2 separate regions of the Homo sapiens genome follow, and region 2 is linked to region 1. The links are contacts of gene promoters, found by promoter capture Hi-C in blood cells and fetal thymus (Javierre and others, 2016). All regions are on one chromosome and are shown on one strand. The core of a region is centred on a gene start or on the middle of the fragment in contact, and the rest is flanking DNA. Distances in the headings are between cores, read along the strand shown. Region 1 holds the start of SLAIN1 (SLAIN motif family member 1). Region 2 overlaps BORA (BORA aurora kinase A activator).

What was found. The method cuts DNA at HindIII sites, captures the fragments that hold promoters and counts their contacts. A CHiCAGO score of 5 or more calls a contact.
Region 2: a fragment that was not itself captured here is called in contact with the fragment with the promoter of SLAIN1 in region 1 in 1 of 17 cell types (non-activated CD4 T cells); the score reaches 5.9 in non-activated CD4 T cells.

Annotation. Positions count from the first base shown.
Region 1 is chr13:77,694,187-77,701,112 of GRCh38, forward strand. SLAIN1 (SLAIN motif family member 1) reads left to right here and starts at 3,501. Exons shown (of 7, transcript NM_001242868.2): 1 at 3,501-4,353. The coding sequence starts at 3,728. It overlaps MIR3665 (microRNA 3665), which reads right to left and starts at 3,930; the gene lies at 3,826-3,930. RefSeq lists silencers at 3,259-3,818, 4,019-4,258, 4,419-4,568. The HindIII fragment of the contact is 5,751 bases long and covers 1,637-6,926 here.
Region 2 is chr13:72,729,273-72,736,198 of GRCh38, forward strand. BORA (BORA aurora kinase A activator) reads left to right here. Exons shown (of 12, transcript NM_024808.5): 3 at 2,009-2,115; 4 at 5,688-5,733. Among named protein-coding and RNA genes, the nearest start is that of BORA, 4.8 kb to the left of the region's middle. The HindIII fragment of the contact is 192 bases long and covers 4,346-4,537 here.

The DNA.
Region 1 (6,926 bases), core at 2,251-4,750:
CATGTGACCTTATAGGGTATAATTATGTGGGTTTTGGGCATGAATATGAGTAGTAGAGTTGGGTGGGGTTAGAATGGAGCAACTCACACAGGGATTTTTTTTGAATAAATTCTGACTTCTTGTATTTCTGTTTTCTCTTTCCATAATCTCCTTACATTAAAATGCAACACATTAGGTGCAGCAAGTATTTTCCTGGCTATTAACTGGGTCAGATGTAAAATAATTGATTATTATGGGATCTGCAGAAAGCCTCTAGTCTTCCTATGTTGTTACCATATGATAAATGAGGTTTATGGAAATAGCTAATTATGTGTTTGTCTAAATTCCAGCTAGAACTTGGGGATTTATTTATTGATTCATTTATCTTTTAAAATTTTTTGAGTATTTATTTGCCATGTGCTAGACACTGTGCTAGGCACTGCATATGGGCAGTGGGACCTGCAGTGTTCGAGTCTATTCTGTATGTATAAACAGGAATCTCCATGAAGAGGCATAAGAATCACTCAAACATTGTGGTTCAAATCAACTTGAAAACACAGTTGGGGATCTTTGATCTTAGTTTAACACATTAGGTTATTTTCTTTTCTTGCAGTAATTGGATCTATAAACTTGAATTAATGTAGTGCTCATATTAGGGTATGTCAGCTGCACTGATCGCAAAATTTAAACGTATGAATCTTACTCTAGGAGAAATTTTACTCTGGCCCACTAGCAACTGCTAAGAACCATCATTTTCATGAGTGAACTTGGGCAAGTAACATAACCTTGTAAGCTCATCTGTAAAACTGGGATAATAACAGGCTGTTTCTAGATTTCCTTTGAGAATTATTTTTATATACTCAAGAACCTATGGGTGCTTTTGCGATTCTGTTGCTGGATCTATTTAATGTTCATACACAGTATTAGAAATATATGTGAAAAATACAAATTAAAATAAGTTCATGTGCTTTCTTAAAATTCACTAGAGTGATGATAGTTCTGAAGTGTAATGAATAGAGAGAAACATGCATTTCTTTATCCAGTTTTGAATGTGTGATATGTGGATGTTTCACATTACCTTATGGTGTATCAAATGTATGCTTAAAGCATAAACTTTTAAATGAGACATGCACTTTCATTTTTCATATCCTCTTTGTAAACCTCTGAAATCACCTACATATTTTATTTAAAATCAAAACATTACAATTGAGCAACTACAGCATGCAATTTCTTTCAAAACACAAAGCTTACTAATTTGCATCAAAATAAAAAAATCAAGACTGCTTAATTAAAACCTTGACACCATCAACCTCTTTAATTATACGTTAAAGAGACTGGCATCCTGGGGACACCAACTTGAAATCAGTGTGCATTTTGAGTGTCTCTGGTGTGTGTACATGTGCAATTCACAGAAGGGAAAAAAAGAGGGGCATTAAGAGAAAGCAAAAACATGATTTAAATTTTCTTTAGACATTAATAATTTCACACTTTTAAAATAGGTAGGAAAAGGGCAAATTTGTCTTTTCAGAAGAATAATGCAGACTAGAATTGTAAAACAATGTTTCATCTCTTTTCTATGTCTAAATTTCAATGCATGCTTTCTTTTTAAAGAACAAAGATTTTTATGATAATTATTACTTAGAAAACAGGGTTCAAAAGCTTGGCTACTGCTTGTTGGATGTATATAGACCATATTGGGTAAATGAAGGAGGAAAGGGCTGTCTGTTTCTCTCCTTCTTTAGAGTGTATATAAATTGTGCAGTAAAATGACGGCTTTTCTTTACATCTTAATTCTTGTTGTCTTCACTATTATGTGCCTATTCCCAATTTCTTTCTCTAGTCTGGGACCCAGCAGCTCTTTGTTCTCATTGTGTCTGTCGTCTCCCTTTCTTTGTGTTGCAGGGAGATACTGCTACCCGCATCTGCCACTGAGCATGCGGGAAAAATCCTTCAATAGATTCTTTACTTAGGACTTTCAGTAGTATTACTCCATTTCTCCAGGTTTTGGTAATAACCAAAAAAAATCCTAAAGATATACCGAAACTTGGAAAGGTGATGGGTGATACAGGTGGTTAGGTGGTGGGCTAGCAAGCTGGGACACAGGGAAGGTTAAGGGAGTCATCACACGCATTTAGCTAATTTATGGAAGCGCTCACCAAGCATGTTAAATGCAGAACATCCACCCTGCACACAGAAGCTAGAGATGTAGATTAACAACTGAGAAGATACAAGTGTTTCTGAGCAGGAAGACACAAAACCATATCTGAAACCAATAGATACGATGTGTTAGCAGCTCCAGAGAAATGAGGTACATTGTCACAAAGATTGGTATGTAAAGTCCCTAGCAAGGACTTTCACTAGATAGTATATCATCTGAGGATGAGAACCAGTGGTGTAGATTTTTCTCATAATATAATCTCAGGTTTTCCTCTGATTGTGTTAAACACTCAAAATGCTAAGTCAGTCAGTATTCATTGAACACAACTCGATTAAATTCTTCTGCTTAAAAGCCTCTTTTAAAAAAAGCAGATTTGCTCGTTTTCCAAGTGGTAAGAAATAGCAGGTTTGCAGGTGAGATTAAAGTGTATTGGGTAGAATTCTGAGGTTTTCTGTTTTCTGCTTTCCCACCAGCAAGTCTGACTTTAATAACTTACACATTATTTAATAGAAGGAGCACTAAACAATTTTACTCATATTTCTCCCCATAACCATTTTTGCCTATTGTACTCATTGCCCGCATCACGAGCTCTTAGAATGGTTCCTGGCACAGAGTAGGTGCTCAAAGATCTTTTGTTTGGGGAATGCATGAATATACATAGTATGAAAAAAAAAGCAGTTCTTCTTTTATTGTGACAAACAATGATGGTAACAGTTCAAATTTGACTATTTTAGAATAAATAAGTAAACACTTGTCTCCTTAGCAGCTGGCCACTCTACCTCTTAGAGAGAGGGCTTTCTTCTCTTTCTTCTCGGTCTCCTGTCTCCCACCATTTTGCTTCTCTATTACCAATGAGAACATGAGTGGCATGGTCCCAAAGCCTTTCTGTTCCCCCTATCTCCACTTTTCGGTTTTTAGAATAACGATCCCCAGCCTTTAAGTTTTCTATAGGATTCGTTAGCCAGTGGCTATTAAGTGCTGTCACGGAGCCTAACAGAGAGCTGGGAAGGGAGCAAACCAGCGGGCCGGTGGTGCACTACTCGAGGGCCAGCACCTGCAGCTGCTTCTTTGGGAACCCCCTGGTCCCCGCAACCGCCTCAGAGACCCGCGCAGTTCACTGTCCCACCAAGCGGCAGGAGGAGGTGCTTGTGGCGGGAAAGTTCAGGCCAGGTCCAATCAGGCCCCTGGGATTAGGTAGCGAGGGTGGGTGCGGCTCCCCGGCCCCAACCCGGGCTGCCGGCCCCGCCCCCTGGGTGGGCTTCCCCACGGTTCTCCGCCCCCCCCCCCCCACCCGCCCCCTCGGCGCTCTTGCCCCGCCCCGCTCCGGGGCCGCGGCTAAAACCCGGAGCCGCCGCGACGCCCAGGGGACTGGAGGGACGCACTGAGCATGTGCAGATCAGCTCGGTGGTGGCTGCCGCGGCCGGAGGCGAGGGCCCGGTGCTGATGCGAACCGCCGGCTCGGCCTCAGCCCGCGCGTGGTCGGCCCCCCAGGCCGGGGCGACAGGGAAGGAGCCGTAGCCTCCCCGTGGCCCGAGGAGCCGGCGCGGCGGCGCGCACTCCCCGGCGGCCGCGGCGCCCTCGGGGCCCACGATGATGGCGGAGCAGGTGAAATGCGCCTCGGCAGGGGTCAGCTCTGGAGCGGGCTCCGGGCCGGTGGTGAACGCGGAGCTGGAGGTGAAGAAGCTGCAGGAGCTGGTGCGCAAGCTGGAGAAGCAGAACGAGCAGCTGCGGAGTCGAGCGGCCAGCGCGGCCGCCGCCCCGCACCTGCTGCTGCTGCCGCCGCCGCCGCCCGCCGCGCCGCCCCCCGCTGGCCTGCAGCCTTTGGGTCCTCGGAGCCCCCCGGCCGCCACGGCCACCGCCGCGGCCTCAGGGGGCCTGGGGCTCGGGCTGGCGCTGGGCGCGGGGGGCGGTGGCGGCAGCGGTAGTGGCAGCGGCGGTGGCTCCAGCCCCGCGTTCCCGGGCACCTTCTGCCTGCCTAGCCCCGCGCCCTCCCTGCTTTGCAGCCTGGCGCAGCCACCCGAGGCGCCCTTCGTCTACTTCAAGCCGGCAGCAGGCTTCTTCGGCGCGGGCGGTGGCGGGCCGGAGCCGGGGGGCGCGGGGACGCCGCCAGGGGCAGCTGCAGCGCCGCCCTCGCCGCCCCCCACGCTGCTGGACGAGGTGGAATTGCTGGATCTGGAGAGCGTAGCCGCCTGGCGGGACGAGGACGACTACACCTGGTACTGCCTGGCTCCGCTCCTTCCCCGAGACCCTGGCCTCGGGGGCTTCGGGCACCGGGGAGCGGGGGCGGGGGGCGGACGGGGGTCCCCTCGCGGCAGCCGGGGTGACTCCCCGCGGCTCCCGGAGGGGCCGACCCAGCAGGTGTTGAGCCAGGCGGTGACACTTCCCACGATGAGGCTTCTCATGAAGGCAGAAACCTGTTTTCTAATCGCTCCGACTGCGGATGAACCGGCCCCCCCTTCCCCCCATCTGCCATGGGTTCTGCTATTTGCTGATTGTTGGGTCCCAAGCTCCTCGTTAGCATTAAGTGCAAAATCCATGTCATCTTGTCTTTTTGCTCAGTGCTGCTCTTTTCCCCAGTGTTTTCGGAGGGATGACGGGGGATGGTAGGGGTTGGCCTCTGTCTGCGACTGTTACTGTTCTTTCGTTTTAAACGAACGCTGGACAGGATTTGCGTGCTCTTCCTCCTCGGGTGGCATCGGAAGCCGCGCAGTGATGGATCTCTCTTTATAGAGAGGTTCGTTCTTGCTGTTTGAATTTTGCAGTCGTGTGCCCTTTTGCGTTGCATTTTCATTGAAATCTTATTTTCAGAGACTGACTTGCTTTTTAAAATGGGGTGACCTCACTGGCTTTCCCATAAATAGTGCCAATAAAGAGGACTTTTCTTGGAGTGGAATGAACAGGTGGGAGGGACTTTTTTATTTATTTATTTATTTTTTTACCTAGGAACCAACGAACTGTCTTTAATTTTTTAAATTAAACTGTAGAAGAAAAGTGAGATTAGAGAAGCCTTATTTTCTTATTTCTTGGAAACTTTTTAGCTTGGTTATCAGAAAACTTGAGGCTGACAGCATTTATTCAGTTGACATCTGGTTAGCACTGTCTACTTTCCATGAATGAGTAACTTTAGGGGGAGGCTTGCTGTAGTCCTTCTTTACTTTAGGTCCTTTTTATGTAGGACCCTTTCTGTTTTTCCAAGCTGTGTTTTCATTACTTTCTTTGTGTCTCTGTTGCATGATTGCATGGAAGGGATTGGGAAATGGAGATCCTTACTGGTTTCCTATTGGGAACTGCAGTGTTCCTTTTCCCTTACACTCTGTCATGTGAGAGCTCTAACTGTAAAGTACATTAGTTAATTGGTTTCATTCAAGAATCAAAATATATGGAGTTACAGTAAGCCTTTCAGAGGTGTATTCATCATCCACCTTAATACTTTTTGGCAGCTGTGCAGGTAGCTCAAGGTGTAAAAAAATCAAACAACTCATCACTTTTGGGAACTTTAAGCCATTTTTTCAAAGCTGCACCCTTATTTCTGTAAAGTAATCTCAGTTTCAGTCTGAATGTGGTACTAGAAAATGCTCTCATGATGGTCCTTAGATTTCACTAATAACTCTCAGCCCTTATGCCACTTTCAAATTATTTTAGGTTGATTTAGTCCCTACTTAGCCTTTTCTGATGGTATGTATGTAAACAGTGGAAGGAAACTTGTTTACATTTTTGATGGGGAGATATATGGGATCAGTTTTATGCTTAAAATATTTGCATTTTAAAATTTATTGTGATATTGTTTGTAAATATGAGATTAGTAATCTATTAATAACTTTCCTTCTTTTGAATGGATTTCTGTCATATTTAGTTAGCATCCTATTACTAGCATTTTGGTACCTAGGCTTTCTTTTTATAGTTTAATTTTGTCCAAATAGCATTGAAATAATCAACTTTAACAGAAATCACCCACTTAGTGGTATTAGTATATTAGCTCTTCAGATGGTTTGAAGCAAATCAAAGTTGAAGCAGGTTCTATTTCATTCAACAAGTACACAGGTGAATAAATCAAAGCCTTGATGCTTTACAAATGTTTCTAGAGACAAATGGCAGAGAATCTTCCTGAAAACAAGCCTGAGATTAGAATTCCAGGTGGAAAAACAAGGAGGGTTCATTAATCTTAGTGGGATGGTCTTAAAAATTTTAAAGTTACCTGATTTACATAATTTTATTATTACATTTTATGCATCAAGATTTTGTTTGCATTGCAAATCTTTTTGATGAAGAAAATATCAACAGGGTTTAATTTTTAAAGTTTAACCCACTTGTTAATGCTTGCAAAGCACTCTGTTCCTTTATCACTGCAGACTATAGTGTCCCAGTAGTGTGGTCTCAGAAATAAGAGTGCTGTTCATTTGGTTCCCTGATATGTTTGCAGGATGGCAACTTATTTTTATTTCCTGTGTTTATTAAGAAACAACTGGAGTGGGTATATAGTACCTTATTTTAAAAATATTTAAAACTACAAGTTTTACATGCTCATTGTAAAAAAACTAAAACATAGATGTAGGTATAAGGTCACAAAAATTATCTTCCTTGTCCCCAATTTATTACCGTGACTCAGAATTCACCCTGTTAATACTCTGCAGCTCCTTCAAGATAAAAAAATATAATTACAACAATCAATATACAAACATATACACATCAGTTTTTTTTAACACTTGCCTTTCATTGAACATACATTGGACATTTGTGTATTCATGTGACATCACATCTCCCAGTAACAAAGGCATCATTATTAGAGTAA
Region 2 (6,926 bases), core at 3,192-5,691, 5.0 Mb before region 1:
TTAGCTAGAAGATTTTTTTTTTTTTAAGTTCAAGAACATACGTTAGCTTCCTGCAGTTGTGGGTGTAGCTACATTCTGTGGTTGACGATATAGCTACTAATACATTAGAGAAGAAGCTGCATCATCTAATATTCTGTTCTCACTTATTTGGCAAACATTATTTGAGTGTTGCTATGTGTCAGATACAGTGCTAAGCAGGGATTACACTGTGAACAAGTTAGGATCATTAGGCACAAATCCTTAAGGAGGTTATACTCCGATGTATGGGTCACAAACTTTCTGTTAGGGGCCAGACAGTAAATATTTAAGCTTTACAGGTCATTTGGTCTCTGTCACAACTACTCACTTCTGTCTTGTATCACAAAAGCAGCCATAGGCAATGTGTAAAGAGATAAATGTTACTCTGTTCCAATACAGCTTTATTTATGGACACATTTGAATTTCATATAATTTTCACATGTCACAAGATATTTTTTTGTTTGTTTTCCCAACCATTTGAAACTGTCAAAATAATTCTTAGCTTGCAATCTATTATAAAAAGAAACTAACCCCTATTTTAATGTGTTAAACAGAACTAGATGAGTAATATCAAGGCAGTGTGATAGGTGATATGATTAGTACTTAGGACAATAGTAATATGAAGGAAAAGTGTTCTTCAGGATATTAGAAAAGGCTTCATCACTTTATCTTTTTTTTTTTTTTGGTAGAGATGGGATTTCACCATGTTGGCCAGGCTGATCTCGAACTCCTGACCTCATGTGATGCACCCACTTCAGCCTCCCAAAGTGCTGGGATTACAGGCATGAGCCACCATGCCCGGGCCACTTTATCTTATTTTACTGTTATTTGCTACACTGGATAAGTTCTTTTGACCTTGGATCTTTCAACCTACCAAGTTACTTAGAAAAACTGCAAATAGGGTGGCTGTTTCTGCTACACTTTCATACAGGTTTTACAATGAGCAAGTATGTACTAGTGGAAGGTCGAGCAGTTTATATTGAGTCATTTCATCAATCTGACCTTATGATTTTTAATTGAATCATTAAAATTTATCTCTTGGTCTTACTAAAAATAAATAATAGATTGACGGCAGCTTAATCCTCAAAGTTGGAATGTATGGCATCTTGCGTTTTTAGGACTGAATTTGCCTAGAATATATTTCTAATTACAGATTAGGATTTGGATAAACCTTTAATTCAGTTGCATGGTTGAGTACAGAAAGGCAGCACTGGTTGCCATTCATAATTATTTTAAGGATCAACTATGTTGTGAGCTTTTGCAGCCACCTCCAAAGTGACTAAGGACTTTAATTTCAGTTCCTTCTTAGTGAAAGTAAAGACGTTTGTTAACTGTGAGAGATTTTTACTTTTACATGGGCTTAGTTTATCACACTGATGAGTGTTAATTGTGAAAGTTTTATATCTTTATTACTCTGTTGTGATTTTTCTCGTATTACGTAATTCCAACCCAGGTGAAAGATTCTGATATTTTAAAAGAGATACAGGCTGGGCGCTGTGGCTCATGCCTGTAATCCCAGCACTGCCAAGGTGGGCTGATGACTTGAAGTCAGGAGTTTGAGACCAGCCTGGCCAACATGGTGAAACCCCATCTCTACTAAAAAAAAAAAAAAAAAAAAAATACAAAAATTAGCTGGGTGTGGTGGCGGGTGCCTGTAATCCCAGCTACTCAGGAGGCTGAGGCAGGAGAATCGCTTGAACCGGGGAGGTGGAGGTTGCAGTGAGCTGAGATTACACCAGTGCACTCCAGCCTCGGTGACAGAACGAGACTCTGTCTTAAACAAAGAGAGAGAGAGATACAATTAAGTCAGTTGATCGAATGTGATATGATTACCCTTTGCCATTTAATTTCATGGTAAAGTCAAATTTTAAAATACAAGCTTTAAAATATTTTCATATTATAACCATTCATATTATTTCTCACATAGGTTAGCATTTTGATGAACTATTTTAGTTTGCCTTTACTCATAAGCTCACTTTCTTTTGTTAAGACTCCAGGGAAATTTAGATGGTCTATTGATCAACTAGCTGTAATAAATCCTGTAGAAATAGACCCAGAAGATATTCATCGTCAAGCTTTATACTTAAGTCATTCTCGGTAAGTTTTCCTTTCTTGCACCTAAGTCTAATAACACTCTCAAGTGAAGAGAGGTAGGAAATTCTAAATGTTGAGTATTTTTCTATGTAAAGGTATCAGGGAGAAAAAATTTTGATGCAGATTTTTTCTATCTAAATGAATGAGTTCAAAGAACTACATTCAGAAAGATTTTCTTGCCAACAGTTCCAGACCTGAGTAGATACCTTTTTCTTTTACAAGTAACCTTTTCCCTCTGCTACTGAGGTGACAGCTCTGTACCCCTAGCACTCAGTTAAGAGAAGAACATTTTGAAATTTGCACTTTTCTACATGGTTGTGGCTTCTGCCATTAACTTGTTTCAGTTTGTCTTTTTGATGATTTGGGGTAAAGCAAAATGCTGTTTCATTGTTATCTATGTTTGGGGAAACCTAAAACCCCCTCAAAGAGTTACGTATGCACTGAATGGAAGGGTATCCATTAGCAACAGAGCGGTTTTTTAGACATCATCCAACTGTAACAATTCACTTGGAATCTGAATTACATTTTCTAGAATTCTACATATCACCCAGTGCAGTCTTATTTGTTGATGTGTTGTTTAGGTTTCAAGGCACTAATGTACTGCAGATTTAGTTTTTTATTACAAAGTGTAAGGTCCTATTATTCTTTTGTAGTTTTAGGGACTCTTGTTTATATGTTTTATAGTCTGATTTTTTAATATTTGAAAAAAATCAAATACATGGTATGACCAGATTTTAATTTGCTGTCCTAAGGTAGACATGTTGTTAGTCCAAAACAAAGGATAATCCTTTTCCCTTTGACTTAAGAATTCAGTCACACAACGTTGCACACATATTGAGATATTCTGGTAAATACTTACTGGCTTTTCTCCTCCATCTTCTCTTTGCTTGGTAACATGATGACCATTCAATCATAAAATTAATGTCCACCCAGAGTGTTAATAGGAAGGGAATAGAATGAGGATGAAGCATGAAAGGATTTTAACTTAAATTTAAATAATACCTTTGAGGCCAGGTGTGGTGGCTCACACCTGTAATCCCAGCATTTTGGGAGGCTGAGGCGGGCAGATCACTTGAGGTCATGAGTTCAAGACCAGGCTGGCCAACATAGTGAAACCCCATCTCTACTAAACATACAAAAACATTAGCCGGGCATGGTGGTGCACACCTGTAATCCCAGCTACTCGGGAGGCCGAGACAGGAGAATCGCTTGAACCCAGGAGGCAAAGGTTGCAGTGAGCTGAGATCATGCCATTGCACTCTAGCCTGGGGGACAGAGCAAGACTCCATCTCAAAAAAATAAAATAAATAAATAAGTAAATAAATAATACCTTTGAAAGAGAAGGTGAGATGAATATCTAAAAGCAAATGAGTCACAGTGACTAATTTTTTGTTTCACACGAACTTAATTATGCTTAATTATTTTGTCTCATTTCTTCAATATATTGAATGATGGACAATTATTATATTGATCAGTCAAGAGATACTTATTGAGTACTGTGAGGGACTGTAAGAAACACTGAAGAAGTACAAGATACTAAGAGTCAAGAGTCAAAAATATAATTAGACCAAAGTTGTAACACAGTGCTTCTGTTCTTACTACTAAATGATATATTGTCTGCAAAGGTTTATAAAGATAATCTTGGTGTCTCTTAGTACATAGATTTATCATATAGAAGAATGGAAAAGAGTGGGAAAATATTATAATTTAATTTAATAATATAATTCAATGAATGGTTATGGCTTCTACCAAGGATAGTCAATATATTCTTCACAGAGCATCTCGTTTCATCCTTAGAAACAAGCAGTGTCTTTCAGTATCTCTTCTTACATATTAGCCCTCTACTTCAATTCTTCCCATCCTTTTCATGCCACCATCCACACAGAAAATTGTAACTGAAAAGCATACCAGTGTAAGCAGGTGAGTCTTGGCCATGTAGGTGACCAGTCCTGAGGTCCCCTCTCCTTTGCCACCCTGCAAAGGCTCAACATTCAGGCCACACCTATACCTATATGCATCATACTGGTGTTCAGTGGTATGCTGGTCAGGATGCTCTCCCCTGTATGACTTCTTAGAATCTTGTTTGATCTGACTCTAGAGTATTTGGCCACAGTGATTTTTACAGTTTCCAGCAATCACCTGAGTATTTCATGTTCTTGAAGTCCCTCTGATGAAGTAGCAAAAGGTTTCTGAATGCAGTAATCCTAGTTCAGAGCTTACTTGCTATTTGCTAAGCTTGTTATGTGCTGCCATTTTGACCATGATAAGATGAAGAGAACCATTGATAAGATGAAGGCCATTTTGTTATCCTCAAAATGGCTACTGTTCAAGCTGGGATATGTGGGTTGACACTGTAGTTTATTTTCTCATACTTCTCCCACTTGAAAAATCTACTTAATTTCTGAAATGTATACATTCTCATATAAGCTTTATTAAGCCATGAGCAAGTCTATATGTGAAAAAAATTCACACCATGGAATACTATGCAGCCACAAAAAGCATGAGATCGCGTCCTTTGCATGGACATGGATGCAGCTGGAGGCCATTATTCTTAGCAAACTAATACAGGAACAGAAAACCAAACCCCTCATGTTCTCACTTATAAGTGGGAGCTAAATGATGAGAGCATGTGGACATATAGAGGGGAACAGCACACACTGGGGCCTGGTGGAGGGTGAGAGGAGGGAGATCAGGAAAAATAACTGATGGATTCTAGACTTAATACCTGGATGATTAAATAATCTGTACAACAAACCCCAGTGACACAAGTTACCTGTGTAACCTGCATTTGTACCCCTGAACTTAAAATAAAAGTTAAAGAAAAAATTCTGAGACAAAATAATTTTAAATTGTAAAAAAAAATATGTCTTACCAATTTACTGATGGAAGGCAAGGATTCTTTCCTGTAATGGAATAAAGAAGTGGTCCTAGAAAGCTAACTGCTGAGTCCTTGGCAAGTATATGCTTTGTGCTTGGACCCAAAATTTTATATTAAATCTTGTAGCTGAGAAGTTTATATAACAGTAATTGCAGATTGTATCAAAGTGAAAAAAAAATTCATTTGGAAAAAATGTTATATTGTCAGTGTTTTATTTCAGAGTTAATATTTTTGACTGTTTAGAACTGTGAACTATCCTCATCTATTTTACAGTAAAAGTTGATTCTAAAATTATTGCCATGATAAACTTGTTATAATTGAAGAGAAAAACTTTGGACAATTTTTAGATGTATGTTGAATTAAATACTTCTTAATTTGTATTAAGGGACAAAGTTTATCAAATTTATATTGTTAAAAGCAATTTAATATCAATGTAAGTCTTTTGAAATAAAGTATCATTGCATTCAAACTTTGAATGGAAAAGAGGGAGGTAAGCCTAACAGCTAACTGCTGAATTTCAGAATACTGCCTAAATGTTACTAAATGTTACAAGATACCACTAGTATTAATTATAAAGTGAGCTTAACATTTGCCAGTTTTCAATGAAGGGAGATTATTTATTTGAAAGGTTATTTTTTAAAATGTTCAATAAGCTTAAGTAATAGCATGGTTATTTTTCTTCTTTATCTTTGTATAGAATAGATAAAGATGTGGAAGACAAAAGACAAAAAGCCATTGAAGAGGTAACTTAAACTGTTACTGATCATTAAATCAGTTAAGGATCAATTCTGCATGTACATCACTTCTTTTAGGAAGACTTTCTTCAATTCCTTCACTGTCCTATCTCCCCTCCAAGCCCTTCACAGTCCCATCTATATAAAGCACCCTTCTGTACTGTCCTAAGACCAATAATTTCCAGCTATCCCAGTACCTTGCATAGCACTTGCATACTGTTGTAATGATCAGTTTAGTGTTTCTGTCCCCTAGACGCAATCTTTTTTGGCCAATACTGTACTTCATCCTTTCATTCTCAGGACCTAGCACAATTTGTCTTCCTTGTGCCTTCAAAATGTTGATTAGCACAAACTTTGTTTCAAGTTGGAGTTTATGTAGAGGAAGTCGAATATTCTCAGGCCTTCAGAGTCTAGATTGGCATTGGGAATGGCTTTGTCTTTTTTTGTTAATACTTTGGATTTTTAAGATATTCATGAAATAAAATCTCTTACTGTTAAACAGGAAAGGTATATCATAATGTAGGCTTTCTAAAAAATAAAAATAATTAAGTTTTTTGCTTTTTTATGTCTGTTGAATTGCCTTTCTTAGCATCTAAATAAGGTTATTATTATTATTATTTTTTGTTTTTTGAGACGGCGTTTCGTTCTTGTTGCCCAGGCTGGAGTGCAATGGCATGATCTCAGCCCACTGCAGTCTCCGCCTCCCAGGTTCAAGTGATTCTCCTGCCTCAGTCTCCCGAGTAGCTGGGATTACAGGCATGCGCCACCACACGCAGCTAATTTTGTATTTTTAGTAGAGACGGGATTTCTCCATCTTGGTCAAGCTGGTCTCGAACTCCCGACCTCAGATGATCCGCCTACCTTGGCCTCCCAAAGTGCTGGGATTACAGGCGTGAGCCACTGCGCCTGGCCCAGCATCTAAGTAAGGGTTACTTACCTTGTTCTTTCCTCAGAAAGTCTTTATGTGATGGCAGCATTTCTGATTTTTACTTTTCTGCCCCTCTAGCCCCCTCAACCCTCCTCTGTTCCTTAGCCGTACTTGGCTCTTCCGTACCACAAAAGACTATGTTTACTCCTGCTAAACATTACCTACTTCTTCTTCTATCTAGTAACTGCACAGTTTTCATTCTGACTCAGTCACTTGGTTCTTCCCCACCTGAATATTCTCAGACTCTCAAAATTTCCAACATTTTGAAAAAATA